Regions from separate parts of the Homo sapiens genome. Here regions 2, 3 and 4 are each linked to region 1. The links are contacts of gene promoters, found by promoter capture Hi-C in blood cells and fetal thymus (Javierre and others, 2016). All regions are on one chromosome and are shown on one strand. The core of a region is centred on a gene start or on the middle of the fragment in contact, and the rest is flanking DNA. Distances in the headings are between cores, read along the strand shown. Region 1 holds the start of DLEU7 (deleted in lymphocytic leukemia 7). Region 2 overlaps DLEU1 (deleted in lymphocytic leukemia 1). Region 3 overlaps DLEU2 (deleted in lymphocytic leukemia 2). Region 4 overlaps DLEU1 (deleted in lymphocytic leukemia 1).

Region 1 (7,084 bases), core at 724-3,223:
CACAGGCAGACCTTGTCTCAAAAAAAAAAAAAAAAAAATCCCTTAAATTAGCATGTAACTTATAATCAATGGTGTATCATAGTTCAATGACAGGATTAAAAAAAATTTTGGTGATACCAAAAAAAAGTACATCTTACATTGGAGAGCATTTGGTGAAATGCAGCTTCATTTTCTAACTTTCTAAAGTGAGTGTAGGAGTGCTTCTCATCTTGCCTCCCACCCCACCGCCCCCGCCACCTTTGGCAGTGTCTGGAGACATTTTTGGCTGTATCAACTTGCGGCGAGGAATATGCTGCTGGCATCTAACAGGTAGAGGCGAGAGATGCTGCTAAACATCCTCTAATACACAGGACAACCCCCGACAACAAAGAATTAGCCAGGTCAAAATGTGAATAGTACAGAGATTGAGAAACCCCTACGTAGAGAAACAATACCTATTTGGGTATATAATAGGCTTTATTATGTTTGATTTTAAATAAATCTTTTACAGTGTATAGTGCAACTTAATGTATAGCAACTTTTTCCAAACCTTGGCTTGTACAGAATAGCAACTCTTGAGACATATTCTAAGCTCTCCTCATCACCCCTCCCCAACTCCTTCTGCTAGATGCCCCAGGGAAATAAAATACAGCAATGCTCCTGGTCAAAATCTGAAAGCCAGAATGTCTCAGAGAGATTCGTGACCTTAAACCAATTAGGTTAGTTAATGGCAAGTCCAGGACTGAAACCCAGACCCCCAGATTTCCGCAATCTCACTCAGCCTGGGAGACAGCTGCTCCCTTCCCGGGCTAAATTGGCTAACACAGTTTGGTACCTTAAGAGGAAATGTGCCCTACCTATATGAGCTGGGTGACTTAGCAAGAGTTTAGCATTTAGTATTCACGCTTTAACACCCGGGACCCACCCAGCTCTCACCCCACTTTATGAGAATGTAGGTTGACTCTGTAAGACCCCTTAGCTCTGTGGGGAATTGGATTTATGCAAAAAATAATAGTGATTCATGAATGTGAAGGAACTTTAAATAAATGTAGATGATTTCATCATACAAAAGGCAGAAGGGACTTAGTAAGTGTATTTAAGGCTCTGGAGGAAGCGTTATTAATTTGGAAAGTGGGTGGGGGGAGCTGTCCTCTATCCCTACAAGCTGCACGTGTGGAAAGGGCCTTTCTAGCGCAGGAAGCTGATTTATGTGAGAGAGGAAGGAGTTCCAGGGGGAGGTTTTGGCAAGGCAGTCCCCACATCTCGGTTGTGCCAGCCAGGCGGGCCTCAGGTGGGTCTGGGGCTCCCTGCCCCTCCTGCTGAGTCCCCAGAGTGTCCCCCGCCCCCTTCCTTCTCCCACTGGGGCTGAATCACAGTGGGCAGCAGTGTTTGGGATCCTGCGATCCACCCATCGCCATCCCAGCAGCCCCACCCTTGGAGGATGGGAGGTTACCCTGCACGCCAGAGGGGATGGCGGGGGCCAGACTCACCTTCAGGTGAATGGGAAAGGACCGCTCCTGCTGGAGGGGCCCCAGCAGCGTCTGCTCCACGCTGACCAGCTCCGAAGTCGAGTCCACCACGCGGGCCAGCGCGCTGCGCATCGCCATCTGGGCCAGGGTGCAGGGCCCGCGGTCCCGGGGGAAGGGCAGCAACTCGGCGCCCCCCTCAGCGCCTCGCACTACCTCCTCCTCTGGGGAGTTCGCCCGCGCCGCGGTCCGCCGACTCCTGGTCCCCACGCCCCCGCCCCGCTCCTCGCGCCCGGGCCCCGGCCGGGCCCGCGGCGGGCCTGAGCGACGGGCTGGAGCGGTGGACACGTGGTCTGGGTCCCGCGGGTTCCCGGGGGCGACTGGACCGTCCCCCCAGCCCCACTCCTGCTGCAGCAGCTGCAAGGTCTGCAGAGCCACCATTTGGTGGCTGATGGAGGCCACTAAGGGCGCAGGGCTGGCCATCGCCTCCGCTGGCGGCCCGGCGCGCTCCGCGTGCAGGTGGAGCAGCAGCGAGGGAGGCGGGGGCGTTGGGGTCGCCAAGGTCACATTTTCTAACCCGCGGCTCCTCGGCCTCTGGGTCTCACAGCGTGTGTGGTCGGCCCCGCCCCCGGCTCTGAATCGGTGACCCGTGCTGGCCTCTGCCTTCGCCTGAAGTCCGAATCAGGCGTGTTCTGACCCAAAGCTGCCTGAAGCGCTGCTCGGTGTGCACTTGAAAATCAGCGAAATGCTGAGCGTTGCTTCTTCCCTCTCTCCAGGGCTTTGATGAGAAAACGTGCTGCTTTGTGCGGGCGCATCCATCGGCGGGGATACCCCGCCCCCACCTCCTTCGAAGGATGCCTGCCAATGACCACTGAGGTCTGGGAGGTGGGGGTGCAAAAGACCCACTCTAGGGCAAAAGTACGAAGGGCTCTAGAAAAACTTGCAAAAGGAAGACTGTGCCTTTCCCAACCCGAGGGGAATTTTCAGAAACTTGTTGAAGCAGCCTTCAAGGCCTTGCATCCCCCAAACAAAAGAAGGAGGAGTTGTGTATCTGGAAGTTCTGCTCTTCTCTGCTTTGCTGGGTGCCACTTGAGCACCGAGAGCCTGGTGGCTGAACTAGCATCAGCAAGCCTCAAGGCCCAGGCCTGGCACTGCCCAGAAAAGCCTAAATGTTTTTTTGTGACACTCCCAAAAGACTTAGGCAGCAAGGTTGAAGTTAATCCTTTTATGAGCCATGAACTTAGGGACAGCTGTACAAATAGTTGCTGTTTTTAATTAAACCCAACATGGCTACTTCCTTAACTTAGAAAAAAGCGACTAGCAATGTTATGCTTTGATAGATTGGAAACCATGGGTGTGTGATCACACTTAAGAAAATAGAAGATATTTGAGAGGAGTGGTATGGAAAACCAGTCCGGAGCAGCATTGTTCCTGCTTGCTTTCTGCAAGGAAAACCACTAGACAACCCAACAGCCCAGTAAAGCCAGGGCAATGGTGCATGCCCACGACAGACAGGTGGGCCCTGGCAGACCTGAGGATGGAATTGCATTACTCCTTTGGGAGCCAGACTGCACCCTTGGTGCTGTGCAGATCTGGAGAGGCTTTTGAGTGAAAAGGCCACACTGGTTAGTCTGTGAGCACAAAAGGATCATCAGAAGAGATATGGAGAGGGATGTTGGGTCCTTTAAGGTTTCCTTAACCCTGGGATAGTATGACCCCATATAATCCTCCCAACTTGCCAGCAAAGGTTCCTTCTCCTTCCCAGTGCTTTCTTCGCCTATGAAAACGAATCTGAATGCCAAGGTAAAGAAAACCTTTCTTAAACAAAAACGAGTATGTTCACACTAATTATAACTAAGTAAAAATGCACGTCTGTGCATTGACAGAGAGGAAATTACTTTGGAGGGAAGTAAATAGTTTAATGTTGATTAGATTTTTTTGCCATGAAGTTACTTAAGTTCATAATAAAAAATAGAAAGAAAAAAATTTTCTTTTTAAAAAAAGTCTTCAAATGTTGAAATATATTAGGTTCAGCAGAGACTAACCAGCAATAGCAAAAATGAACCCCTAATTTTCACAGAGCATGTCAGATCTCTAGGGCTGCCTCTCTTTCCAGATACACAGGAAATTCAGTTTCATGGGCTAACCCTTCCACTATCAAATGGCTGACTGCAAAACTTTCTTGACAGTTGGAATTGCAGCCAAGAGCAGAATTGAAATCACTAGACACAGGCTGACCTGAGGCCCCACTCTTCTACATACCACACTGAGTCAGAGCCATGAGACCAACTGAACCTCAGGGGGCATGACAGAAGGGTGCCAGAAAACCTTGGGGCCTGAGGGATGGCACATGCTGCTTAAATTGCTGCCTGCTTTTTCTAGTATTCTTAGGAAGCCCTGGATCATCTGGCAACTGAGTGTTTTGTCTGTTTTGGCTGTGGGTCGCACTGTGTTTTGCTATGATCTCAAAATGGCTTGTGTTCCAAAGCTAGAGATATGAGAGCCTAACTCAGGAAAAATTTTCATAGTCTATTTAGATGAGTCAATAGCATAGCAGATCTACCTTTGGTCTAAAACACCTCCGTAGTTACGTTTGCTGGGCTACCAGACGAAGTAACAGATAGCCTACTTCTTACCCACTGTACTCACGATTTGAGGCCATTCTGTAATAAAGGGCACATTCAAAAGGACAAAGTATTAGATATCTGATATGTTTGTTTCACAACATATATTTCACTATTTTATAGAAATCATACCCTCATTTCTCAGTAGATATGCCTTTTCCTCCACACTCTGCCCGTGAAGTCAGATGGGATGAGCCCATCTCACTGCAGAAGAGTACTGGATCATCTAGCCTAAGTCCCATCACACATCACATCCCCACAGTGCATGCATGGTCAGGAATGGGCACATGACCCAGCTAGAGCCAATGAGACAGTATCTTTTAGGATGCTTTCAGCTGAATGCACTGTAAAAGAGAAAACAACAGATGCAAAGAGTACAGGCCAAAAAAGAAGTGTAGGCCAAGAGATGAAACAGCAAAAGATCAAATTCCCTTTAAACCAGAAAACTCAACATAACATAGTTTAATCAATAAGAATAATTTATTGTCTCACATCACAAGAAGTCCAAAGGCAGAGTGGCTCCAGAGTTGGTTAATATAGCAGCTCCTCAGTGTCATCAAAGCCCTTTGTTCCTTCCTTCTTTCTGCCATGCCATTCCCAGCACATCAGCTTTGTCCTTAATTTTTGGGCTAGTTCTCCTATGGCTACTAGCAGCTGCTGGCATCATGTCTAGACAACAATAACTAGAAGAAAAGGCCATCTTTTCCTGTGTATTCCTTCTCAAGAGCAAGGAAACACTTCTCAAAAGCCTTCAGCTGGCTTCCTCTCACATCTCCTTGACCAGAATTGTGTCACATGTTCTTGCCTAATTAATCACAGTCAAGAGGAAAGAGGCTACCATGAGAGTCTAAGGTGAACTAGAATTCAGTGTAGGAGTTGGGGCTGAGCCTAGCCTCTCTCAAAGCAATTGGTGGAGGGAGGATGAAAACTACTTGATATGAAGCAAGGTTTTGTTACCAAGCATCAGCAATGGCAACAGAGAACAATGAGGATTTTGCAGGGGTTTCCAGGTAAAGAATATATCAGATTTCCAGGGCTGCTTCTCTTTATCAATACACAGCAAGTCCAGTTTCATGAGGCTGATCTTTCTACTGTCAAATATCTGACTTCAGTGACCCCTGTGCAAGTAAAGCTGAGAAGATACAAGTTCTGGAGCCTCTGCAGCCATCTTGTGAGTTTGATGGGGACAGCCCGCCTATGAATGAGCCAGCACTCATGGAGAGAAGACGTTCATGAAACAAAAGCCAACAGATGTATAGAGAGAAACCGTGGCTGTATAGCAGCATTTGAGGTCCACATTTAGCAGCACAGGAAGTCAGCCCCACCTCTGAGCTTTTCAGTTATACGAGCCGATGAAGTCTCTTTTTGCTTAAGCCTCTTTGGATTGGATTTACTGCCTACTGCAACAGAAGGAGTCACAGCTGAAGCAAATAGCCTGACATATGTTATAGGAAAGATGGCATGTTCATGGAGTGACCCTGTGACCCAGTGCCCCTTAGGCAAGGCACTGCCAGAAGGTCCCTCCAACCAACTACTTCTAGCAGTGCTTATGCCATTCACCTAACCTTTCTACAGTCTCAACAATTGTGGGAAAAGCTCTTTGGGTAACTCTGATGGGAGCATTTTTAAATGAGCACTGGAAACATTCAGCACCCTGTGGGATGGAAAAGAGAAGAGGGTAGAAAGCTCAGTGAAGTGAGAAGCAATTTTCTACCTGTTAATGGGCAAGGTAGAGTGTTGTTAGATAAATGAATATTCTGGCACTTCTGTTAATCCAAAGTTTCCTTTCCTGCATGAGCAAAAGATGCAGGTTCCTATGTGGAATCGTGGAGAAGCCGGGCACAATGAGAACCGAAGGGAGCTGGCAGAAGGTACAGTTCTGTGGAGCTGTCCTCAAAGGACTTGGCAGAGCCCAGATACATTTGAGCCCTGTTTATATTCTTTGGCATTTTTCCTCAAAAAGGATCCAAGAGAATTCCAGAAATAGAGCTGTTAACCTTCAGCGCACCCTGGTGAAGTTCATAGGTGAGGTCAGAACAAAACATGTCCAAAGAGACCAAAGAGTTATTATTCGTGAATGAAAATTATGATTGAGGAGAAACAGATGCTGAAGAGATACACCAAGATATGAAAATGTACTGTCAAAGAGAAAACAATGGAACTAGGACAAGGTGTAGGCCCAAGAAAGAAAGAAAGAGCAAAAAAGACCAAATTCTTTTTTTTAAACGTACCATTGTAATGTTTGAATATGCCAAGTTATAAAAGTAAATGCACGTGCCCTTCTAACTTTGGCCTAAACATTTGATTTTGGTGGATAAAACAAAGACGCAATACCGCCCTGAAGTCTCTGAATTGCCAAAAACAATTGTTTACATAGGATGGTGTGCTTTCAGAACATCATATGCACTACCTTCCCAGACCTTGTGAAGCTGGTGAAGTTTAATGAAGCTAGAGAAGAAAAATAGACAAGAGTGGGTAAAGGGAAAGAAAATAAGTTAAAAATGTTAACTCTCACCTGCCAGTCCAGATGTCATCTGATGTACATTTGCGCCTTTGCAATTTGTCAACACAAAATGCATTTCTTTCTGGACATATAAATCATTGTGCTTGGTTCTGTCTTAATAATCAGTTATTTGGTTTCGGCTTAGTAATCAGTTAGTTTATTTCCAAGGAGAATTATTGATATTGGCAGAAAAAAATCAAAAGTGGATTTTTTAAAAGTCAATATAATTTTTTCTAATTATTGTAGCTTTGGTGGATGATTTCAAGTTTAAGAGTGACGGAATGCCATGAATTTTCATGCTGCCTACATTTCAGTAAGACAACCTTGCTGGATTTCCCCCTCCATTTTGGATTATAAAATCTAACCCCTGCGGAACATCCTTTCACTTGGAGAGAAAAATTTACTTGGAAAAATTTCACTTGGAGAGAAAACCAAGAAAGCTTCTTGGTTTCCTGAACTATTTTGATTATCTGTGTAGATATGGCTTATAGTATTGAAATGAGGTGGCAGAA
Region 2 (6,423 bases), core at 1,097-3,596, 650 kb before region 1:
AGCGATATAGGTTCTCCATATATACATACATACACATATCTCTCTCTCTCTGTATATAAATACATTCATTATAAGGAATTGGCTCATGTGATTGTAGAACTTGACAAGTCCCAAAAGTCCAAAGATTTGCAGGGTGAGTTGTTAAACTGGGACCCAGGAGAGCTGATGGGTCTTAAGTTTTACTCTAAAACTTCCCTGCAGGCTCAAGACTGAGGAAGAGCTGATATTTCAGTTTGAGTCCAAAAGCAGGAAAAGACTGATGTCCCAGCTTGAAGGTAGTCAGACAGAAGGAATTCTCTCTCATTCAGCCTTTTTGTTCTGTTCAGTCTTCAACTGATTGGATGAAGCCCACATACATTAGGGAGGGTGATCTGCTTTACTCACTCTACCAATTCAAATGTTAATCTCACCCACAAACATTCTTATAGACACACTCAAAAGAGTGTTTGGCCAAATGTCCAGGCACCGTATGGCCCAGTCAAGTTGACACATTAAAATTAACCATCACAGCATCCATGGAGAGTATAGGAACATGTAAATTACAATTGAATTCCCATGCATATATATGGGTATTACTTGATGGATATGATCATGTTTTTAGAGCTCAGTGAAAAATAAGGCATTAGAGAATTGCAATAAATAATAAAATTATTTATTTTGGGTGCTTTTGTCAAAGAGGTATATTAATCTCTTGATCCCTTTCCTCTGCTTCATCTAACTCGTAGGGGATATACTTTATATTGCTGTGCTTGGCATCAGCAACTGATGTGACAGCTCTTCCTCTGTTCTATGAAAAGGTGATGTACTTTAAAAAAAATGTTTCTGTAGAAAGTGCTTATATCCACTCAATAAAATCTCTAACAGGTCTAGCTACTTTAAAAGGAACAGTTAGGAGAGATGTTTTGCTTGAATGATAGTTTAAAGAATTCCTGTGTTTTTTCCCATTAGCTCCATCTAACTTGGGTTGTCTCAGAGAAATCCACTGGAGCTGATCTTCCTCAGTAAGATGTCTTTTGGTTTTGTTTTATCATCATTCCTCATCTGAGAACCAGAGAGAGAAAGCTGTCAACAAGTTATAGGTTCGTCCAGTTGGTGGAGCTGTTTGGGCCACAGCACAGGGACATATCTTTTGGGTGGCAAGTTCTAGGTATGGGGCTCTTTCATTTGCAGGTGGCTTATCCAAGAGGGCTGGAGATGTAGCTCCTAATATTCTTAATCCAGTTAACCGGGATGCTAACATGTTGTACTGATGTTACTTCTGTGGCAAAACTTCTCAGAGATCTTGGGCCCAGTAACTGGTCCAAAAGAAAGACTTGAGAGGAAGAATGGCTTTACCTGAAGTCTATGGTCATTCTTATTGCTGTTTTTTGTGCGTTCAATTCAGACTTTCAGCTTGGTCACTGTTCTTCTCTTCTTCCCCTTCCTCTATGTGGTTGGGGACTGGAAAAGGGTGTCCTAGTTGTTCGAGACCCTATCCTGGACTGCTCTTTGCTCCTATCTATCCAACTTCTCAAAGTTCAGCTTTGCTTTTCCTTTCCTGCCTTGTACTCACCCCTTTGGGCTAATGAGATTCTCAGCTTTTTCCAAACGCTGACTCTTCTCTCATCTCTAGGTCCTTTGGGTAAACATCTCTTCCAACCTTGATCTAATTTTTAAAAAACTGCCCCTTATCACTAATTTTAGAAGCAGCAAACTCATTATATAGTAATTTAGATTAAAATATATATATAATTATTGTATTCCTGGATTTTGTTCTTTTTTTCTTGTTTAGTTCTGAATTTTGCTCCTCTAGGATATTCTTAGTAAATCTCTAAGGAAAATGCAAAATCTGCCACTAATAAAAGCAGCCACTGACATGGATGGGATCTAGGGCGAAAGCAAATGGGGAAAAATGGGAAACTTAAAAAATAAGAGAAATGCCTTTTTTTTTTTTTTTAAAGCCAGAGACATGATCTTGCTGTGTTGTCCAGGCATTTCAAACTCCTGGGCTCAAGCAATCCTCCTGCCTCAACCTCTCAAAATGCTGGGATTATAGGCATGAAATGCCTATTTTTGAATGGATACTTTTAAAATTATCTACTTATCTAGTATGCTCCCAGCATCTGAAGAGCAGATAGGATTCATTGATGAAAGGGTGAGGTGGTTAAAACATACAGGAGGCCAAGACTAGTAGTTAGCCCTGTGTAGGTATCACAGGATTACTTGGGTCAGAGACTCAAGCAGAAGTCTCTTTAAAGCTTTTCTAAATGATAAACATTGTTGGAATGGGGTAAAGTTGTTCTACTGCAAGAAAACTCTTCATCAGAAGAAATTAAGAATTAATTATCCTTATCTAATTAGACTAGGTGTTTCTCAATAACAAGAAAAAGTAGTTGCTGCTTGCATTGCTTTTACTCTGGCACTAGTATAATGCAGTCATTATTGGTCATAAAGCACTCTAAAACCAATTAATTTGTAAAGCTTATTTTGACAAGAAGTAAATACAAAGGTAAGGCATAGTTAGCATAATGCTGCTATCATGGCACTCTTGGGCATAATTTATATACATAAAAAATACAAGGGCAAGTATAACTTTCAAGCTGATTGCCTGTAAAAGACTTAATTGAAAACAGTTTTCTGCTTTTAAAAAGTGATTTATTTTAGATGTGCTTTAAAAAACAAAGGTCTTATTGATAACCATTTTGAGTATATTATCTCGATGTGGGATTTAAGTAAAAGGTCAAATCTTATAGAAGTATTTTTGGTATGACTCAATTCTGATCACAGATAAACTTTATCAAGAAAATGAAATTAGTTAAACATTTTCATGCCTGAGCACTAGTTTAAAGAGGCAGCAATTTTTTTTTTTCACAAAGACTTCAAGAAGAGAACTTTGGTTGAGAAACCTAGAAAACAAAGAACTCAAGATGTTATCGTATAAATGTTCTTTAAACAAGTTAATATTATGAGAGGGGAAAAGCATTAGATATGTTTCACTAGAAGAATAAACAATTCACATGTGTAATTTTTGCAGTGGATAGACAAATCTCAGATCTTTTCTGCCTGATATCATTTGCATTTATTCAGCTTATTCAAGTAAAAGACTTATATTTTATTTCAGAAAAGCTAACATGGAACTTTTAATTTTACATTTAAGTCCTGTTTAGTTGTAATTCTCACTCCCCCAGCCCCTGTAGCCTCCTGAACAGCTCTGACTTGCTTTTTTTCTGAATCCAGCATCAGTCCTACAATTAGTCCATTGGCCAGGTGATGGTCATGTGCCTGGTTAGAGTAGGGCAGGCTCCATTTGCTGATGGGCTGTGCGACTCAATGTTCACAAATGTTTAGTCATTCAGCTCCTTTTCAAGGAATAAGCCTGGATCAGGCAAGTAATTAACCTTTGCTAGTCCCAAGGTTTGTTCATTAGAGGCAGGGAAGGAGGAATCTTCTCACTTTTCTTCTCAGTCCTACTGCTCGCCCCAGCTTTATGAAACATGAGCTATGTCCTAAGGGAAGAGCAAGTGGGCCTCAGGTCCTCAGAAAGCACCACAAAACTCTTAAAATATTAAGCGTAGGAGTCTATTGTTCCTTTGTTTTCCTGGACAGGGAAACCTCTTTAACATTGGACTTCATTGTCTGTACCCCATTTCCTGTTCTTACAGTGGCTGTTCAGTCAGCATGATGGCCGGTGGGACCTGGAGGTCCAGCAGCAGCTAAGATGTCCAGGCCCTACTCGTTTGTACCCCTGGTAGCATTCTGCCTTAGATATGAGAGACACTTCCCAGGCTCTTCCTGCATTTCCATCTTATGCTCTGGCAAGCAAATGCCAATCTTGGCTCTTTTCCACTTAAAATAGTCCTTCTACTTTTTATCTGCTGTGTAAATTGGGGTTAGAAATATTGACTTAAACTGCACCAGACTCTGCTGCCAGCTTGCCCATTCTCCATTACCCAAGTCTTCCTCCCTAACAGAACCCAGAGTTTGTTCATATATTGGCAGCAATGTACTCAGCCCGGGCAATGGATCTTGACTGGTTTCAGCCAATCAGAATATCTTCTATTAAGGATAAGGATAGCTTCCCTGCAGCTAGGGGTGGCTGAGTAACCTTGTTCTGACCAGTAAGATTTAAGCAGCAGAAGTCCACTGGGAAGAAGGGAATGGGGAAGGAAGACTCCTGGGAAAGCTTTTGTGCTCTTAATAAAAGAGCAGAGAAACTGCTGTGCTGCTTGCCCCTTCATCTTGGCTTGAAAACAAATGTATTGCCTGGAGCTGAGGCAGCTATTTTCTGACCATGAAGTAATAAGCCTTATTGTTTGACATGTGAATGCAATAAACCTCTACCCACATAAGCTACCTCCATTGAAGGATTCCATACTTGGCACAGAATTTCTAACTGACACACACTAAAATTCAGATATAAAAAAAAATAGTTTCTGTAACGTTTTGGTAACTGATTTCATCTCTTCCTGAACCTTTGAGGTTGAAAGTGGTGGCAGCAGAGGTGGCAGTAGCCACTTACCTTTATCATTAATGATAAGTTAATTTATTTTGGGGAAATGACTCAGTTGTTCAATTTTCCTTCCACTTGCCTCTTCGAGATGATATCTGTGGTAAATGGGTGTGAGCTCTTAAGCAGTAGCATGATCTACTGGCTCACGCTTGCTTTTCAGAGCTGATTGTTAAGTTTAGGGGAATTCTGCAAGTCACTTGTTATATGCAACCATTATTAGATAAGTTATATAAACTTACAATATTAAAAAGAAAGGTAGTACTCAAAACTCACCACTTTTTAATTATTTAAGTACATTTTACTATTATTCTTGCAATTGAAGTTATTTATGTCTTTTTGTTTGTTTTAGAGACAGGGTCTTGCTCTGTTACCCAGGTTGGAAGCCCAGGCCGGAGTGCAGTGGCACAATCATAGCTCACTGCAGCCTCAAAGCTCTGAGCTCAAGTGATCTTCCCAGCTCAGCCTCCCATGTAGGTGGAACTATAGACACTAGCCACCACGCCTGGCTAATTAAAACAATTTTTTTTTTAGAGACTGGGGTCTTACTGTGTTGCCCAGACTGGTCTTGAACTCCTGGCCTCAAGTGATCTTCCAGACTCAGTCTCCCAAAGTGCTGAGATGACAGACCTGAGCCACCACACCCAGCCTATTTGTGTCTATTGTATCTGTAAATGGAAATACTATATAATGCCGCAGTTAGCATGAGAGTACAGATATCTCTTTGACATACTGATTTCATTTCCTTTGGATGTATACCCAGGAGTGGGATTGCTGGATCATATGGTAGTTCTATTTTTAATTTTTTGAGGAGCCTGCATACTGTTTTCATAATGGCTATGCTAATTTACATTTCCACCAACAGTGTACAAGGGTTTCTTTTTCTCCACATCCTTGCCAACATTTCTTGTCTCTTGTCTTTTTGATAAAAGCCATTCTAATGGGTGTGAAGTGATATCTCATTGTGGTTTTGATTTTCATTTCTCTGATGATTAGTGATTTTGAGCATTTTTTTTCATGTAGCTGTTGGCCATTTGTAAGTCTTCTTTTGAGAAATGTCTATTAAGATATTTTGCCCATTTTTAAATAGAAAAATCCTCTACTTTTGACTTTTCCCTTAACCTTCACCTAAAACCTCTCAATTTGAGATTTAGGTCCAAGGCAAAGAAACCATGTTTTCCTGCTTATGTCTCCATCTTTTTAACGTCTTCTTACCCATCACCATGAGCTTTTCTTTTCCCTTCTGTTTGGTAGAAAATAGTTTTAAGTTATTTCATTCTCCTTCCTGAGGAGTTGCTTTTTCCCTTTCTCTGAGGCCATATTGGTGAAAAGGCTGCAGAGAACCTGATTCATAGGGGAGAATGAATTAAAAATACATTTTAATGTATATAAAAAACTATCACCATCACGCTTGTAACTATGAGTCACCTTGTCCACCCTTCCACTCCTCACTACTCCAGGGTTCCACAGACCTGAGAGTAGGGACTGTGGTGAAGAATGACTGGCAGATATACAGCAACTGAAAAGGCACCACGCTTTTATCTCAGTTGCATTACCCTTTGTATATCAGCACTTAAAAAGGGATCTTTTAAATAACATCCTTGAATCCTTTTGGGTGGTAGAAGTAAAATTGGGGCTAAGCAAGAATGAAATGGACTTTTAGAAGTTAAAATAGGATGTTGTATGGGCAAATGTATGAGGTAGGAAAATAATGTTGTCACTGCTTTGCTATCTCCATTTTCAACAGCTCTCTCAGTGCCTCTGGCATCTCCTTCTTTTGCTATGTACCAGCCCTGTCACCTAGTCCCTCCCACTATTAATCATTAATGACTTAAGATGTTACCACCTCCTTAATTGTATTTAAAAGTTAAAAAAAAACATGCTTTTATTCTTTCCCATTACAAATAACAATTCATATTCCTTTTAGAAAAATACAG
Region 3 (6,154 bases), core at 1,530-4,029, 720 kb before region 1:
TCAGGAGATTGAGACCATCCTGGCTAACACAGCGAAACCCCGTCTCTACTAAAAATACAAAAAAAAAAAAAATTAGCTGGGCTTGGTGACGGGCGCCTGTAGTCCCAGCTACTTGGGAGACTGAGGCAGGAGAATGGTGTGAACCCGGGAAGCAGGGAGCTTGCAGTGAGCCGAGACTGCGCCACTGCACTCCAGCTTGGGCAACAGAGCGAGACTCGTCTCAAAAAAAAAAAAAAAAAAAGTACTGTGATGTTCTCATCTTAAATAAAATGATCTTATCTGTATAAATGCATAGAAATATATCCTAAACTGATATTCATTTATTTTGATGGTAAAATCTAGGATCTGAGGAGATTTAAAAACTTTCCTGTAACTTTCTATATTGTTTGAATTATTTATAAATGAGCATGTATTTTTATAAAATCAATAGCCATTATCCATAAAATAGCATTATACACAACAATGTGAATATACTTAACACTACTGAACTGTACCCTTAAAAATGGTGAAGATGGTAAATTTATATTTACCATTTATAACTTTTGCCACAATTAAAAATAATAAATTTTAAAAATACTATTGTAAAATTTATAAAATAGCTAATGCACAATAGCTTTACAGATGAATTTACAGATTCTACCAACATTTGCCCGAACAACTTTTCCACCAAAATGTGAAACCTCAGATTATACCCTTGCATAATACTCTATATTTGCCTATACATTATTTTAGTAAGCAGAGATTATTCACTGGCAGATACTGTTATAACTATGCCAAATGAAAAGTTACTTATGAAAAGTAACTAATAAGTTATGTTACTTTATTAACTATCCTTGTGCTGTAAAGTTGTAAATATGTCATTTGATTTAAATATTCAGAAGAAAATCTTTTAGCTTTAATGATTTTTTTCCTGATTGTTAAAATAATATGTGCTCATTTTAGAAAATATACAAAGGTAAAAATGACCATAATCACAGAGTACATTTTGGTGTACTTTTTCCACCCTTTTCCTATGCATTTTACATATATATTATATATGCATTTCCTATGCATTTTTAAATAAATGAGAAAGTTTTATAAACTAAAAATCTTAGTGTATATTAAACATTAATATTTGTGTCATTAAGTATTTTTAATAGATACATATTTTGTTAGATTGATACACCATGGTTTATTAAACCACTCTCCCACTGCTGAATATTCAGATTGTTTCCTCTGTATAGATACTCTAGTGAATATGCATAAATCTGTGATTTCATATCTGATTATCTCCTTCAAATTGGTTCCTGTTAGTGCAACTACTGTGTCAAAGAATTGGACATTTTTAAGACCCCAGAAAGGTAATAGATAAGACTGAAAGTTTTTTTTTTCTTTTTTTTTTCTTTTGAGACCAAGTGTTGCTCTGTTGCCCAGGCTGCAGTGCAGTGGCACGATCTTGGCTCACTGCAACCTCCACCTCCCGGGTTCAAGTGATTCTCCTGCCTCAGCCTCCCGAGTAGCTGGGATTACAGGCACAGGCCACCCTGCCCGGCTAATTTTTATATTTTTTTTAGTACAGATGGAGTTTCACCATGTTGGCCAGGCTGGTCTCAAACTCCTGTCCTCGTGATCCGCCCGCCACGGCCTCTCAAAGTGCTGGGATTACAGGCGTGAGCCACCTCGCCCAGACAAGACTGAAAGTTTTATTGCACTCTTAGTGGCACTGGTTATCAGCACTTATTTTCAATCTTTGTCAATCTGACGGGGGAGGGGTCTCTTTCTGTAATTTAATTAGGCAAAGTTGAATTTTTACTCACATATTCATAGGAATAACTTTACTACCTTAAGGACTTGTAATTCTTTGTTTTTTTACTTAAGAAGATTGCATTTAGTTCTTAATGTATTTGTAGACAGAGCATTATTACTATTTTTTTTTTTTTTTTTTTTTTTTTGAGACGGAGTCTCGCTGTCGCCCAGGCTGGAGTGCAGTGGCGCAATCTCGGCTCACTGCAGGCTCCGCCCCCTGGGGTTCACGCCATTCTCCTGCCTCAGCCTCCCGAGTAGCTGGGACTACAGGCGCCCGCCACCTCGCCCGGCTAATTTTTTGTATTTTTAGTAGAGACGGGGTTTCACCGTGTTAGCCAGGATGGTCTCGATCTCCTGACCTCGTGATCCGCCCGCCTCGGCCTCCCAAAGTGCTGGGATTACAGGCGTGAGCCACCGCGCCCGGCCGCATTATTACTATTAGCTAGCAAGATCATATTTTCTTTTTTTAAGACCCTAAGCTATGTGATCCTGGTATCATATTTTCTGTATTGAATTTATTTCTCCATGTGCCAGTTTCACTACACTTTCCAAAGTGCTACTAAATGCTTAGTTTATAAGGTTTTAAAAAACTCACTGCATAATTACTTTAAAATAATTTCCTCAACCCTGCCTTCATTCAAAATGTCTGGAGACAGACTGGCCCACTTCCAATTTTCTTTCACGTTATCATTACTGTGAAGTCATTCTATAGATAGGAGAGCATTCTGGCATACAGAAAAACAGCATCTGTGAAACTATATGGCACAGTTTGGTTGGGGTTGTTGCTCCTTCAGAACCGCATTATGTAATTTTAGTGTTTACTTAAGCTCCTTTGGGCTGCCTCCGTGGTAGCTATGAGCTCACAGAGAAGTAAGTACAGTTTAGATCTGATAGCAAAGTCTATCAGTTTATCCTGAATGCTGCATCCTTTTTTTGTTGTTGTTGTTAAATCATTACTGTATGAGAAACTTTAAAAACAAAGGTATAGTTTCTTCATTTTATTTTTTAAAAAAGCTACTTCAAACATCATTAAGTAATACACCAAAAAATAAAGGGTTCATAAATATATATTTGCTCCTTATCTGGACGTACTTATTTAAAAACTCATATTCTACAGTATGAACTTACAGTGTGATTTTGACTCAACATAAATATAAATATGCAAAATTACCAAAATTAGAGGGATTAGCCTTTAGGAAAGTACAAATTATTAAAATGGCCTAAGCACTATTTCTATTTCTAAGTCATAGAGGAAGCACATTTAATATTTCTTAAAAAAAACAAAAAACACCAAAGATGTATAAGTTAATATCAGCTTAGGGAGAATTTTACAAGATACTAGGTTATAAGAAAAGATTATTTAACCTTGATTATTCAATGAAAAGTAGTATTTTCAGTTTTTTAGAGCGATAACTCTTGAGTCTCTCTACCAAACAAATAATTATATATGCTGGTTTAAAATAAAAATAAATCAGTCTGCATTATAAAGGTGGGAGAAGTATCCATTTTTTTATTGTAATAATCAAGTGTTACGTCGCCTTCATAGGAAACATGCATACTCTTATAAAATACTTAAAAGCCTCAACTGTTCCTTTAGAATTACTGATTTTGATGAATAAACAAGCCCCAATAAAGTCAATATCGTAACATCTAAAAGCATATTGTCCCTTTTGGGAAATGTCATTTTGTTTTAATTATTATTATAAAATTACTTACTGGAATATTCTCCATAGCATTTTGCTTTTTAATTTTGAGAAGGACATTATGCCATTGATTGCCAGCGATCCTATGAGGTCCAAAGTTGGGATAACTCATGGAGGGCAAAGAAAAAAGTTTTCATCACCGTGGAGGTACAGCTACTGTGAATGTCCTACCTAGTTTGGGAGAGAAGGGTATGTGTGCACAGGAGGCCTGACCTGGAGGGAATGGACACAGGGAGAAGAAAGGTGCAGGAAGATTATGAGACAGACTGCCTACTCAAGTTGGCTCAGGATTAGCTTTGCTGGAACATTTAAATGTTTGGGTTTTTATATTTCATTCTAATATAAAAAAGAGGGTATTTATTAGGTTTCTTATGTTTAAACTTTTCTAATGTACAAATGTACTGTTTATAAATCTATTTATCAGAAGTTACATGTGGTGATTTTAAACATGTTGCAAATTGACACTCCTACCATTAAAAGGTGGAGTCTAATTCCCCTCCCCAGAACACATATGGCCTTAGTAATTTGCTTTTAACAAACGGAAGTGATGGATATGATGCTGCATGGCTTCTAAGACTAGGTTATAAAAAATGATACAGTTTTACCAGGTGTGATGGCTCACGCCTGTAATCCAAACACTTTGGGAGGCCGAGGCGGGCGGATCACAAGGTCAGGAGATCGAGACCATCCTGGCTAACACGGTGAAACCCCCTCTCTATTAAAAATACAAAAATCAGCCAGGCGTGGTGGCACGTGCTTGTAGTCCCAGCTGCTCAGGATGCTGAGGCAGGAGAATCACTTGAACCTAGGAGGCATAGGTTGCAGTGAACTGAGATCGCGCCACTGCACTCCAGCCTGGGTGACAGAGTGAGACTCTGTGATACAGTTTCCATCTGGCTCTCAGTCTTAGGACCTGTGGAACTAGCCACCCTGTTGTGAGGCAGCCAGACCACATGGAGAGGCCATGTGTAGGTGTTCTGGCTGATAGCCCCAGCCATCAGTCAGTATTAACCACTAGACAAGCAAGTGGACAAGCCTTCAGATGATGCCAGCTCCAGCCTTTGAGCTGCCCCAGCTGTCATCCAGTGGATTAGAAACAAGTTTTCTCTACTAGGCAAGGTAATGTTGTTTTAAGCCACTAAATTTTGGGGTGGTTTCTGTACTTAAGTCACTGCTTCCAATAAATCCCTAGTCAGGTTAACTGTAACGGGTTAACCTGTTGGAAGGAAGGAAATGGAAGAGGCAAAGGAAAACCCTTTCCTTCCACGCTTCCTTATTTCCTTAGCCAGACTGTGAGTTTAGCACCTTCTGCTACTAACTGTTGGAGATTAAGTGTGCTTTTGAAGTGCAAAAAACACCATCATGGGGACTCAGTCTATCCCAACACCTTTCCTTGAGGGCTTAGAGACTGAGCAGGGGAAAGACAAAGTTTGATTTCTTCCATTTCTCCTTTTCTTCTTCCTTAGGTATCTCTAGTTTCAAAAAAAGGGAGAAGCAAGATTTCATCCTCTCCTATCTTCACTGTCCTTCTAAATTCAAATCTCCAGAAAGACAATTATGGTTTCTTTTTCACTGAAAGAGAACACAGCTTTTTCAGTCATATAAAGGGAACAAAGCAGCAACATGTTTCTATTATCAAGGAAGCAGGATTTTATTCATCAGTTATATGCTACGGACACTGCTCTGTCTTTAGTCACTCATCACGGTTCTTCAAAGATTCCTTCTGCTCCCCTTCTTCCCCTGAATATGGGTGTTCCCAGGGTTCCCTCCTCAGACCACTTCTTACAGGGCACCCTTTGTGGTCCATCTAAGCCCCTCCCACTGCTTTAGCTATCACCTACATTTTAATGACTCCAGAGAGCCAAACTACTTCAACACCCCCTGCTCCCCCAGTAGTTCTCTGATACTTCAGATTCTACAGGGACAAAACAGAGTTCCTTCCCCTAGACTTGAGGCCTACTTCTCCTTTTAGTCCACACCCTAAACCAGAAATCTGGGTATCTCTTGCTCTTGCCCTTTACAGCCAACCAGTTTTCCCATTCCACCAACAGAATTCCACCAATTTAATTACTTCCTTGAATTCCTCTTTTCTCTATCCCCACTATCCCTAGGTACACAGCGGTGGTCCTAATTGATTGTTACTTAGGTCACAGGCTGTTTTACATTCCATCTTCAAGTCTCCAGGACTTCAACCAGTGTACACCTCAATATGACATTTCCAAAACTCCTTTCATGGCTCTCCCTTTCCTATGTTTTAGTCCTGAGGCAGAATAGGAATTTACTCATAAAGCAAGTAACCCCCCTAAAATTGTATGCAAAATTTTAGTATAGGTATGTAAGCGCATTTTTTTTTCCTAGAGAAAGAGCCCATTGCTTTTTATTTTCCTCAAAAGGTATGTGTTTCCCCCAAAACTTGTAGGTCTCAGGCTAAAGTCCAAATTCTTCAGCATGCAGGGTATATACAAAGCCCTGCCCGACCTGGCCTCTTGCCTCCCTGCAGCTAACCTGGCAATTGCTCTCTCTTAACATCTACCTCCTGGATTTACAAACTGGGGTGGAGGTGGGAAAAAAGAATCAAAATCATAAAGTGAAGCCAAAACTGTTTGTGTAGCATTTATACACTGTTGAAGAATCAAAGGCCTTTTTTTCATAGTGCTTTTCGGGAG
Region 4 (7,037 bases), core at 3,827-6,326, 680 kb before region 1:
TGCGCCACCACACCTGGCTAATTTTTTTTTTTTTTTTTTTTGTATTTTTAGTAGAGACAGAATTTCACCATGTTGGCAAGGCTGGTCTCGAAATCCTGACCTCAGGTAATCTGCCTGCCTCAACCTCCCTAATTGCTGGGATTACAGGCATGAGCCACCGTGCCCAGACCCAGTGTCTTTTTGTGTGAGGACCACTACTAAAGTTTTAAGAGATTTCTTAAAAAGGCAATCGTCATTCTGAGGCAAAGATTACCAACATCTGGATTCCAAAAAGTGGGGAAAAATCAGTTATTCATATATATTAAAATGACACACTTCATTTCCAACTACCAAGTACAATGTTCACCTTTATTCTGTTTGTTTTCGCTTTGTCGTGCTACTGAAATATGTGTGCATGTGTATTTAACCAAAGAGAAACTCACTCCTAACCCCATATTTAGTGGTGGGACCATCCCTTATTTAGTGAGGCTGTTTTTTTTCCCCCCAGACCCGAGTTGTTGTTGCCCATGCTGCTGAATTCCCAATATGAATAAATCATAATCATATGATTATACTAAATCAGAGGTTTCAGTACCCTTCCACAAAGTGACAATAAAATGCTCATTAAAAAAAAGAGTAGGTTGTGTTCAATGGTGTTAATTTAAAATTTTAATGCTCAGGCCAAAATGCCAGAAAGTGAACCTCAGTTTCTTGGTAATAATAAGGTGAACTGGCTTCCAGCAGAGAGATTTTGTGGCTTCTGTATCCTGCCGCTGCACTTCTCCCTTCTCCAGCCTCCTTTCTATTTGGTGGTGCAGAATCACCTTGGTCAGCCCTTTGACCTTGCCTGGAAAAAAGTCCTCATCAGTGAGTGAGTGTGAGGTTAGAGTGATAAAGATTCTAAAGGAATGCCTTGTTTTGATTCAAATAGTTGGATTAGTCACAGAGTTACTTAATCCACACACATAGTAGAATCCTCCAGCAAGCTTCTTTGTTTTCATCAGAGCTTTTGAGAGATTATTATATTATATCTCTATCTTTTAAAGATAGAGTAGAAATCCATCTATGAAGAATAGTTTTAGGTGCATTCCTGCCTGAACACACATTTGGACAGTCTTATAATTATGTATCTTCCCGAGATGCATTTTGAGCCATTTCTACCCAGAACTTAAAAAAATATTTCCTATGAGTGCTGGAGGTTCTTGCTTCTCTTAACCCACTAACTTTTTGAAGCCATAAGAATATCTTATTAAGGATTATGCAAAATAACGTCCTACAAATCCTGATATTATTACACTGCCCAAAAAACTTCAAAGCATCAGGAAAGTGTTGTGTTTTTTTTTTTTTTTTTTTTTTTTTAACTAAACCAGATTCAGCTGGCTACCCCACTTGGCTACAGAGTACTAAAGAAGAGACTGAACTTGATCCTGCTGCCCTTGCATACACAACACTCCCATTGACGCTAGTGAAGACTTAAGCGCATGAAAGGATTCCAGGATCAAAAGGTTAGCTCTATGGGGAGCTGTGTCTGGCTCAAGCAATCCATTTTTTTCTATTGACAGTGAAAACGTTTTATAGTTCTTTTTCAAAGTTTTCCCAAACTTTTACAATAACAGGCAACTTGTGAAAAAGTGAGAAGGCATCTAATTGAACTATATCCAGAGGAGATCATGGCAGAGACCAACAGGAAGAAAAACATTTCCAAACCACAGCGATATTGGTCAAATCAATTGTATTTGAAGAATAAAGCATTTGAGGCGTCGGCTGAGAAAAATTTTCATTATGAAACTTGGTTGGACTATGAAGCAGAATGTGAGATAAAATAAAACACAGAGCTCATGAGTTTTTATCTTTGTCTGCTAATGACTTATGCTAGCAGGATTATACTTTTTTTTTGCATTTTATGAGATGTATGAACTAGGAAGAAAATACATGCTATATCTAAATGGATTAGACGTGCAGATTCTTAACTAACATTTAATTCATTGCTAGTAAAACAAATGCCTTAAAACATTTAAAAAAGTGAAATTATCTTAAGGAGATAATTAACAAGCAGAGTAGAATAGCATTTTTGAAGAAAGTGTAATATGGTTCTACACTGGCATTTTCTGCATTTATTGAAGATACTTAGTCTATCCAACAATTCACTCATTCATTCTTTCATGAAACCCTGTCTCTACTAAAAATACAAAAAAAAATTAGCTGGGCACGGGGGTAGGCCCTTGTAGTCCCAGCTACTCGGGAGGCTGAGGCAGGAGAATGGCGTGAACCCGGGAGGCAGAGCTTGTAGTGAACCAAGATCGCGTCACTGCACTCCAGCCTAGGTGACAGAGCGAGACTCCGTCTCAAAACAACAACAACAACAACAACAACAACAACAACAACAACAAATTTCTTTGTGCACTTACTATATGCCCAATGCTAATCTAATAGTTTTACAAGACCTCAATTGAACAAGTGTCTGAGGAAATGGATTGCATCTAATAAAGCAAGACACACCAACTGTGGATGGGTGGTGTGTCTAGAGTATTTTGCATTCCTAAATCACTCTTCTGGAGAAAATTTGTATCAATAATTTTGTCTAGCTTCACCTGGAGTTACACATTTTGATTGGTAAGTGGCTTCTGTGATTTGCCTCTTAGAAATACATTATAATGTTATCCTAATATATGTACTAGGACAGACAATGCTACGTTGAACTAACTTGAATAGCATATTTTATAATCATAAAACTGATATAATATTATAGTTTTGATCTTAATCCTCCTCTATTGTATGAGCAATGGAAAGTCTTGGTGAGGAGCTTGTCTAAACATTTCTCTTGCATTTTCACATAATTGGGCTTGACAGTTTCCTGCCATTGTATAGGATAACTTCAGTTGATGGTGATCATGTTTTTGCTTAAGGGTCATTGAATTGTATTAGAAATTTTATACCATATTCTTGTAATCCTATAAGTCATTTTTGAGTTACATTATTGAAAGTGAACAATAATGTACCACAAAACAAAAGTTACTCATGCAGTTAAAGCTTTTTTTTGTACCTAGGTTTAGAAACTACAAGTCCACAGAGAATAGGGCTCGTGAAATAAATGAAAATACACGCTCATCTCCACCCACTCCTTGTTGTTGGGGCCTGGTCAGATCTGGTGAAAACATTAAGCCATTTGCCTTAAGTGGTATTGGCAAGTTAATTTATTCACCTTCTGGAAGGTACCAGGCTAGTGCTTGCAGAGGCAAGATTTTTTTTGGGTGAAGGGAGCAAACTTTTCCACTTAACATGTGCCCATGGAAATCAGGTACTTCTTTTTTCAGCTACCTTAGCTTCTGTTGGGAATTTGAGGGTGTTTTATGGGTTATGTTCTTATACGGTGGTTAAGTAGGCTTGCTGAAATGGATCTAGAAAAGACCCAGGTCAGTCACTGGTTGAAAAAGGGTTGACAGAAAATTAAGGAGATATGACTGAGAGCAGTTTCTCTTTCAGGTCCCCAAATTTCTCCTCTAGCCAATTCACATTAAGGTCTGAAATTTCCCCCATTGGTGTCATTCCGGCCATTGTTTCCAGAAGGGACTTTCAAAAATGCAAATATGTTCCTGTGGAGCATTTGCACATTTGGTGAGTTTGTCAGCCTAAATGAGCAGTTATCTTTGGAACTAAGAAAGAAGGGTCTTAACAGAGAACCAGGTTGGAGGAAGAAAGATCCTGAGAACATTCATGGGAGGTAGGCCAGGGGAAGACATACAGCATGAAACTTTGGCAGTTTAGAAACAAGGGGGATAACTCTTGTTAAGAGAGCTTAAGGGTCACAGAAGACAAATATAGGTCATTTCACAGCCTAATTTGGAGTTTGATCTTCACAGTAGCTCTTTATGGGAGATCAGAAGGCCTTAGCTCAGGTATGGGGAAAAGACTTCCTGTGAAGTCTTTATTCTGCTTGATCAAGGCTGCTTGAGGGTGTCAAGGGGTTCAAGAGAAGTTCTGAGGCCAAGTTCAAACTCAAGGGAAATAATTCTCTCATTTCATGATTTGTGCCATGGATCCATGAAGGAGTGGTCATCACGACCTCAGACTCTGCTGCATTTTTGGAGGGTTTAGTAAGTCGGCAATGGCAGTGACAGCTCAGTCCAGTTCTCACAGTGTGAGAAGAACTTGGGACATCCAGCTAATGGATCTACAAGAGTTCCAGGTGGCCCTGAAGAACTTCAGCACTTCTCCTTGCATATTTGTATTAACCTGGAAAATTGCTTCTTGAAGAGAAAAGGAAGTGATATTTTTAGAACAGGATCAGTATTTCCAGCACATTTATTAATGGGCTAGCTCCTCAGTGTTTACATGGCAACAGGATAAACTATTATTAGTACTGCTCACATCATGAGGTATCAGGATGTTTTTTGGCGTGGTAGACCATCTATTCAGATGAGGAAGTAGAGTGCATCCATTTATGAATTTATTGTTGACATTTCAACTGTAATTCTTTCTCAGTTTCTTCCCTAATGTCAGGATACAAATTTTCATATCCTTGAGAGAGGATTTTTTGGGAGGGGCAATAAAGACAAATTTTAAAATTGAAAATAAATAAACTGGCAATCCCATAAAGCTCTTGATCATATTTAGACCAGTGAGTGTTTCCTGAATGTTTTTGATGTTTCTGATCCTGTGCTGAGCACTGTGGGGGATGCAAATGAAAGAAATAATACATGGTTTCTACCCTCAAGGAACTTATAATTTATTAAGACACATAAGGCACTTGAACCAGTTAAATAATGAGAAAAGACAGTATATGACACATAAATGCTTTAGAAGTTTAGAAAAAGGAAGGAACAGCAGGGTTATTTAAAGAGCTAAAATTCCTGTAGCTTGCTTCTCTTACTTTATTGGTGGATGACTCCAAAACTCTGTAAGAAGGGGAATAGGGAGAATGGAAGGAGTCTTACCCATCTCTTACTTCCTTATGCAATGTTGTTCATGTACAGTCAGTGTCTACGGAAACTTGAGGACTGATGGGAAAATTATTTTCAGAAATGGAGGTGAATGAAAACAGTCATGGTGGAATATTTTCCAACCATAACTCTTGCCTTCTGTTCATCCATCCGCTCAGAGAGCCAAGTGTACGTATGTAGTCTTCTAGCTACTAAATTCCATTCCTAGATAGTCATAGGTCTTCCAAGGCCCAAAGGCTTACCTTGATTTCTGTTTTTTTGGATAAGTCCCAGTCAAATGGCTGCCACAGAAGACAGAAAGTCATATATAGATTCTCCCTTTCCTCCTCATTGCTTCTTCCCTTCTCTCACCCCCATGCCCCATTCCTTATCTTTTTACTGATTTCTCTCTCCGCCCTCCTCCTAGTCATACATCTACTTTTTTCTAGTATTCCTAGTTTTTTTTTTTTTCCTCACAGTTGTTCATGGCTCTTTGCACACCACTGTCTAAGTCTGAAGAAGTAAAAAGAGAATGAAATAAGTGTTGCCAAGCAAGACCCTTCTCTTCTTTCCATGTTTGGAAAACAACCTCTTGGAATACAGCTCTTGAAATGTATTGAATTATCTTTGTGTTTTGTACACAGCCCAGTGTACAAAACTGGGATTGAGGGATTGAATTATCATTGTGTTTTGTACACAGCCCGGAGTGCTCAAGACATTCCAAAAAGGTTAAATGACAGCAGTAGCAGTCACCCCTCTTATGCAAGACATTCTGGGCTTCATCCAAGATAGGTGGAGCATTGCTGTATCACTCTCATGCATTCATTTGCTCATTTATTCTCTAAATAAAGAGATAAGCAGAGGCCAGATTCCGTTAGGCCTTCCAGACCATAATGAAGAATTTGGTTTTGATTCTAAGAACTGTGGGAGGCCAGGGGACTGACATGGTCTGATTTGTGTTTTTAAAAGCTATCTCTGGCTGCAGTATGAGAATGGATGATAGAGGTCAAGGTCAGGAGCAGGAGATCAGTTAGAGAAGCTATTGCAGAATTCCAGGCTACAGATAATGGTGGCTTAGACTAGGATGGTTGAAGTGGAAATGAAGAGAAGTGGACCAATTCTTGCCAAAACATATATCTGTAAGCCGAACCCTATTTCTTATATTAGTGTTGCCTTCATTTAAGGCTGGGGGCTGGCTCCAGCATTTTGATGCTTGGGTTAGTGTGCTAGAAGCTGGCCTGGAAGCCTAGAAGTCTGGCCCCATTGGACCACCTTACTGGGTCAGATGTAATCCTGGCCCACTAGCCACTCATGCCTCTTGCAGGGTCATGAAGCTGCTTAAAATGTTTGTTCGGTAACTTAATTACTGTTTCACCTACATTCCATTGGCTTAAATTCTTTTCTTTTCTTTTTTTTTTTTTAAATAAAAGAGATGCTGGAAGCGATGGTTTAATACATTTTAAAGTTCTTTTCCCACCTATTTCCTACTCTGTTTGCATTGTCATTTGGGATATTTCATGCAAGCAATCTGTTGAAATGAGAATTTTAATGTTGCGGGCATAATGTTGCTAGTATTGCTTTGAAAACACCACATCAGCTGTCACCAACACTGGACACGGCAGAGTTTATTTCACAGATATTTGCTAAGGGCTGGGTGTGCGGAAAAAAAAAAAAAAGGTATGGCCTCTGCTTCCAAGGAGCTTGAGAGGAAGGGAAAGTAATACAAATTCTTGAACATCTTTTAACTGCTAGCCTTTTACATCCACGACTCATTCAGCTGTTGCAATACCTCTGAGGTGAGTGTTACTCTTATCCTTAGGATGAGGAAAGGGGCCCAGCCATCTGTCTCAAATCATACTGCTGTCGTGTACAAGCCGTGAGCTAAACCCAAAGTCCATGGCCTTCCCACCTTATGCTGTAGGTACACTTCAAAAGCTGTCATGTCTTCTGTTTGAATACCACCCCTGCCCCTTCACAGCTGCAAGATCTTGGGAAAAATGTCTTCATCTCTGTGAGCCTCAGTTTCCTTATCTTTAAAATATAGATAATAGTATTTACCTCAAAAGGGTATGCATGAAGCATATATGAAAGTTCTTGGCACATAGTAGCCAGGAACTAAATATTGTTAGTTTCCTTTTT

What was found. The method cuts DNA at HindIII sites, captures the fragments that hold promoters and counts their contacts. A CHiCAGO score of 5 or more calls a contact.
Region 2: a fragment that was not itself captured here is called in contact with the fragment with the promoter of DLEU7 in region 1 in 3 of 17 cell types (naive B cells, total CD8 T cells and total B cells); the score reaches 5.5 in naive B cells.
Region 3: a fragment that was not itself captured here is called in contact with the fragment with the promoter of DLEU7 in region 1 in 1 of 17 cell types (fetal thymus); the score reaches 5.5 in fetal thymus.
Region 4: a fragment that was not itself captured here is called in contact with the fragment with the promoter of DLEU7 in region 1 in 1 of 17 cell types (total CD8 T cells); the score reaches 6.4 in total CD8 T cells.

Annotation. Positions count from the first base shown.
Region 1 is chr13:50,841,719-50,848,802 of GRCh38, forward strand. It overlaps DLEU7 (deleted in lymphocytic leukemia 7), which reads right to left and starts at 1,974. Exons shown (of 2, transcript NM_001306135.2): 1 at 1,470-1,974. The coding sequence starts at 1,928. It overlaps DLEU7-AS1 (DLEU7 antisense RNA 1), which reads left to right. Exons shown (of 5, transcript NR_046551.1): 5 at 6,819-7,084. RefSeq lists an enhancer at 904-1,830. The HindIII fragment of the contact is 9,888 bases long and covers 1-7,010 here.
Region 2 is chr13:50,188,551-50,194,973 of GRCh38, forward strand. All of the region lies in intron 2 of DLEU1 (deleted in lymphocytic leukemia 1), which reads left to right. Among named protein-coding and RNA genes, the nearest start is that of DLEU2, 66 kb to the left of the region's middle. The HindIII fragment of the contact is 223 bases long and covers 2,236-2,458 here.
Region 3 is chr13:50,117,239-50,123,392 of GRCh38, forward strand. All of the region lies in intron 1 of DLEU2 (deleted in lymphocytic leukemia 2), which reads right to left. The region is part of intron 2 of DLEU1 (deleted in lymphocytic leukemia 1); the gene reads left to right. Among named protein-coding and RNA genes, the nearest start is that of DLEU2, 5.2 kb to the right of the region's middle. RefSeq lists an enhancer at 4,582-5,107. The HindIII fragment of the contact is 7,720 bases long and covers 1-6,154 here.
Region 4 is chr13:50,155,478-50,162,514 of GRCh38, forward strand. All of the region lies in intron 2 of DLEU1 (deleted in lymphocytic leukemia 1), which reads left to right. Among named protein-coding and RNA genes, the nearest start is that of DLEU2, 33 kb to the left of the region's middle. The HindIII fragment of the contact is 4,139 bases long and covers 3,008-7,037 here.